2 separate regions of the Homo sapiens genome follow, and region 1 is linked to region 2. The links are contacts of gene promoters, found by promoter capture Hi-C in human tissues and cell types (Jung and others, 2019). All regions are on one chromosome and are shown on one strand. The core of a region is centred on a gene start or on the middle of the fragment in contact, and the rest is flanking DNA. Distances in the headings are between cores, read along the strand shown.

What was found. Contacts are between HindIII fragments. The study calls those that stand out against the background at their distance.
Region 1: a fragment that was not itself captured here is called in contact with the fragment with the promoter of BIVM in region 2 in 1 of the 25 tissues and cell types used here (lymphoblastoid cells).

Annotation. Positions count from the first base shown.
Region 1 is chr13:103,133,045-103,135,744 of GRCh38, forward strand. No RefSeq gene overlaps it. Among named protein-coding and RNA genes, the nearest start is that of SLC10A2, 68 kb to the left of the region's middle. RefSeq lists an enhancer at 1,272-1,331. The HindIII fragment of the contact is 6,276 bases long and covers 1-2,700 here.
Region 2 is chr13:102,797,756-102,800,455 of GRCh38, forward strand. It overlaps BIVM (basic, immunoglobulin-like variable motif containing), which reads left to right and starts at 1,364. Exons shown (of 11, transcript NM_017693.4): 1 at 1,364-1,766. POGLUT2 (protein O-glucosyltransferase 2) reads right to left here and starts at 1,221. Exons shown (of 10, transcript NM_024089.3): 1 at 734-1,221. The coding sequence starts at 915. RefSeq lists an enhancer at 1,371-1,590 and silencers at 1,651-1,920, 2,481-2,530, 2,561-2,700. The HindIII fragment of the contact is 13,413 bases long and covers 1-2,700 here.

The DNA.
Region 1 (2,700 bases), core at 86-2,585, 340 kb after region 2:
CTTTCAAATCCCAAACCCCTGGCAGAGACTCCTTGCTTCTGCTTGAGTCAGCTGCCACATCCTATGCTCACCTAACTGCGAGGGAAAAGGAGATCTCAGGGCTGCCTGAGGCTACCCTGTGGTCGCATGCTTGTGACTAGTGACCTTGCAAAGGGAAGGAGAACCTGCCTTCTCCTCGGGAGCCCTTGACTTCAAACAGTTGGGTGCATGTTGCTTCTGTTCCCTTTATCACCCTGGCATTTTGTTCTAATTTGTCCCTTTCTCCTTTCACTCTTTTTCTGATCCCCACTCACACTGGTCTTTGTTCTTGAGGTTAAAAGAAGCTCAGGCCAGCTTGATGCTTCTCAATGGACTCCCAGGCACCAGGAACACGATTGAAGGCGCTGGCCAGGCTCTGTCTCTCAGTCTCTCTGATGTGATGTGGGGCTCCTCAGATGGTGTGGCTGATGGAGGCCCCAGCTTCCCCCTTGGTGGTCACTGGTCAGTTTTCACTCTGTCTCTTATGCAGTGTATTAACCCCAGGGGGCATTGCTCTCTGCAGCAGACAGTGGAAACAGCCTGTTGGGAACGAGGCTGCCCATCCAGCTCCTTCGATCTTCTGATAAAAGCAGACTGGGGCGCAGTCAGCAGCAGTCGGATTCCTTTAAAGACCTGCCTGCCTTGCCAAGAGAAGGGTTGTTTGTTCAGGTTTGCACTTGGCTGGCATAAAAGGCATTGCAGGGACTGGAGTAATGGTATTCTCTTGGGTCTTGTCCAGAGTAACTTTAGAAAATAATTGATGAGCACTTGTTATTTTCCCCAGCTTAACATTCAACTTGTGGGTGATCCCCATTGTTAGACTTCACCTAAACCTGGCTTTGTGCCACTTTTTTTCTTAGACTTGGAAACTCAAAAGATTACATAAATTTGTTGGTTGTAAGTATTGGATGTCTTCCCATGGAGACTGGACCAGAGACAGCAATATAGTTCCAGGTAAATTTATGAGTTTTTATTCAGGTTGGACGTTTTGGCCTCATATGAGGACATTTTAGGGCATTTTGCTGCATTCCTAGAAAACACCTTCAAATGTTGAGCTGCCAGTGTGCTGTGGGGCAATTCTATATGGGGGTGCAAGGAACACTTCTGATGAACTGAGAAGGAAAAAATGGCTTCCTGACACTCTTGCTGGGCCACACAGGTCACCTACCAAGCCGATTCAATGGCTGAACTTTTGTATAAAAAAGCTAGATAAAGCAATCCCCTCTGGCAGAATGAAAGTTTCCATTAAATGTGAGCCAAGGGCCATCAGCTAAATTGAAAGATAAAGACATGCAAAGGGTATCTAGTGCCCTGGTGCATGTGGAACTGAACCGTTTTATCTAGAGGTCGAGGGAGTCATAGTGGACAAGGTCCCTTGAGGGGAAGTGGTGAAGCCAAGGGGCTGGAGGAGATGCTCAGGCTGAGAGTGACAAGCAGAAGCCAGGAAGCTTAGCCAGAGACATGAGCCTCAGGCAGAGCTGAGTGGTCTCTGCCTGGGGAGGAGAGAAGCAAAGACATGCCAATCAGAGAACAGAGTTCAGCTGCCAAAAAGTGCAATGAACCAGTTTTCTCTCCCCATCTCCTTACAATGGAAGGAAAATTAAAAACAAACAAACAATAGACTCTCACCCATACCTTTTATAGTGCATTTGTAGCTGTTATAATATTTTTATATAGATAATATTTTTTTGAATGAGTTCTGGAGATCTAATGTACAGCATGGTGACTATTGTTAACAATACTATATTGAATACTTGAAATTTGCTAAGATATTGATCTTAGGTATTGTCATAATATACAACAAATATTAACTCTGTGAGGTGATGAATATGTTAATTAGTTTGAAGCTGGTAATCCTTTCACAATGTGTATCAAAACATGTTGTACATCTTAAATATATACAACTTTTATTTGTAAATTATACCTCAAAAAAGCTGGAAAAGATAATGAAATAATATTTTGTGCTGGATGCTTTTTTGTTGGGAAATGGCCCTGCATCAATCACATGCTCTTGATGTCAAGTAAAAATTCTTCCTTTATCCCTAGATGGGACTCATTTTTACCTTTATAATTCTGGTTACAACAATATGAAACGGTACTGTGCAAGAGTTATTTTCTTTCATGCCTGCTGTTCGTGTTTAATGACTTGGATCTCTGTTTTAACACAATATCCACAACTTAAAACTCAGAGAACTGCCAACACAGATGCTAGTTTACTTTGTATAGCTCTAAGATGAGAACTTCAATTTCATATTGGGGGAAAGTCACCTACCACTCCCCTCCCTGCCCTTAGAGCTAGAACTTGTTTATGAAGCAACCTCAGCTAAATGCAAAGAAGATAAGCCAGAAGAGAGAGAGTACATGTCTATTCCAAGTCTGTTATGTTCCCTGTTCAGCGCGTGACAGCCTGAGCCTCAGTGGTTTTGACACTATGGTCCCATGAGCTCTAACTTCTGATGAGGTTTCCTGGGGATGTGCTAAGAGCCAAGCAGAGAGTCTGTCCTCCTGAAGTTCCACTTGGTCCGTTTTATATTTTGGGATTACCTGTCACATTTGTTTTAAAGATGGTTACTCTTGCTTAAAAATAAATTTAAAAATGGTTTCTGTATAACGCTTAGTCTTCACAACATTCCTGTGGGTTTGCTACCCTGATTTCCATTTAATAGATGAAAGAATTGGGGT
Region 2 (2,700 bases), core at 114-2,613:
CACGCTCAGCCATGGGCAAAAGCAAAGTAGTAGGTAGTGTATCATCTTTTGCCAAATAACAAAATTTACAACCTGCCTTTTACTTGACAACCTTTTATTCCAGTATTTTTTTCTGTATGAAATACACACAGTCAGCATCCACCAATAATAGAGACAATCATTTCAGAAGTATAGGAATTATAAAAATAAGTTTTAAGTATGATGTTAAAGTATTAAATTCATTGGAACAAAATATTTGTTACAATCATATAGGAGATTAATACTTCGATACTTTCCTTCCGAACTCTGAAGTTTCAAATAGTACTTCATTTTTCTTTTTCAGTTTCAAAACATGCTTACCTGCAGATGTCTCCTTGAAAATTGAGGGCCGCACCAGAGAAAGATGAAGCCCATCAAGTCTCTAACAACTAGGTTTAAATCCCTTATAATAGCTTATGCGAAAAGTAGTTAGAAACAGTATTTCCAGCAAAGTGGAGGGACTTTGTCTTGCCCTGATAATGTGGGAATCTGAATCAAAATTGCTAGGAGATTATTTTATATGTTATATACAATACATTATATTGCATATATTATAATTCGGAACAATTTCTACAGCTACAGAGAAAAATGGGTAACCAAATATCCTGGAATATAAACTGCTGTGGAGAAACGAGTTCTTGGAAAGAAAAATCTTAAAGGGAGAAACAGATTTAACCGCCATCCAAAATAGGTAAGGAGCCGTTTCTCGACTTACTTATTCCCTGATGTATCCACTGCCTGAATATAGAAATAGCGGGCGGGAAGGACGACGTCTGCTTTTAGCCCGGGTCCCCATATTTCGCTCTTCTCCGGGCTCAGCTGCCTTTCTCCGCCGGTCTCGGCGAGTGCTGGAACTGTCGCCAGAAAGAAGCAATAAAGTAGCAAAGTGCCAAACATTTACAAGACGGACTCTCGAAATGATCCACCGATAAATGAAGAAGTGTAAGAGGTGGACAGAAGCAGCCGAGCCTTCGGCAGGGACCCGCCGGCCGATCGCAGCAGCCAACGCGACTGCAAAGGTTGCCGCCCGGCGTGCAGGGCAGGCGCGCGGGTCTCCGCGACCCCAGGACAATCAAAGCCCGTGCCCCGGCGCGCCCAGGTGAGGGTCCCCTGGCGTTCTGCTGTCCCGGCCGAGAACCGCGCTGCTCCTCTCTCTCAGGACAATGATGAACTTGAGTTGCTCCTGCCACTGGAGCATCATTTGGGAGCGAATCCGTCTCAGGTTCCAGCCAAGGTGTAGGGCGAGGGGATTGGCCCGTGCGTCGGGCCAGGCTCAGTAACGCCTTCTCCAAGTGGATGGCGGGGTGGACACGCGTCCCGGCGCCCCGGGCTCCCTGGGATATGTAGTTCGCGACAGGACGAGCGGAAATACTGCCAGGATTTTACCACCTCTCGCCCATTTATTTACTTCTCGGTCACCGCTTTCGGGGGACAGATAAACACCACAGATGCCCATCAAAGGGGCGCACGGGTCTGGAGGCGCAGCTCAGGTTTTTGCGTTGGTCACCCTGCCCTCCGCACGTGGAGAGGGCAGGCATAAAGCACCTTGAAAGGAAGGTGCTGTCAATGCTATCCGACGACCTGTCGCCGGGCACCGCAGCATCCTCGCTCGCTCCGATGGGACGAGGGACGCCGGCCCCAGGGTAACAGGAGGCGCCTCGCCGGCCGCGCGCTGGATGCTGTGATCCAGGTCCGGAGCCGGGTTCCGCCGCGGCCGCAGCGACCCGACCCCACCCGACAGGCCAGAGGTACCCCGGGGCGGGGGGCAGGGGCCGAGGTGGCGGCCGGCTGTGCGCTCTGAGCGCCTGGCCCTCCGCTGGGCACCTGGGCGCCGCCAGCCCGGCCTGCTGCCGCTCTACGCGCAGCCACCTGGGCATTCAAAATTTTTACTTAATTCGATACCGGCCTGGGCTGCCAGGGGTCATCGCCTCTCCGAGCCCCGTGGCGTCCAGATGGAGGCCACTGCATGGGTGCGCGCTCTCCCGGGAAGGAGTAGGGGGAAGAGCTGTGTCGCGGGGGGAAGAGAAGCGCCAGGGAAAGAAGGGCCTAGCCCTCTGGTGAACAAAGCTCGATTAGGAGGTGTCCATGTGGATACCGGTGACCCCTGTGCGGCCGTCGGTCTCCACGCCACGCTGGGCAGGGTCCGGGAACCAGCGCGCAGCGGCCGTCGCCTTCCCCTGCACGCCAGCACCCGGGTCTGGGCCGCCGCCAGGAGTCACGGGCTCACCGCCCTGGTCAGCTTGGCAGTCGGACCCGGAGCCGCCTCCTCTGCCTGCCTCCCTCTTGCCAGCTGCCCCGAAAACCCAGAAGAGCCGGTGGCTCCGAGCCAAGGCGGGCCTGGTTCGGCGCCAGGAAAGGGGGTTTCTTTCCTATTTTCTTTTGTGCAATTGTCATTATTAATGATACCGACTCGTTTACTCAAACAGTCGAATCGGAGCCCCAGCTCTTAGCCCGGATGCAGCAATTGCCCGTGGGCCCCCTTTAACACCAACAGCGTCCCCGGGGCCCGGGGCAAGCATGTTCGAGGCGGTCACCCCCGGGCCTCGGCGCGCTCCCCCTGGCGGAGAGCCTCGTCTTCCGGCCGGTGAGGGAAGGTAGAGGAGGGAGTAGGGGCGAGGAGGCCTCGGCGGCCCTTGGGCTCTGCGGGCTGGGGACTCGGGGTGCCCGCGACACGCGCGGAGG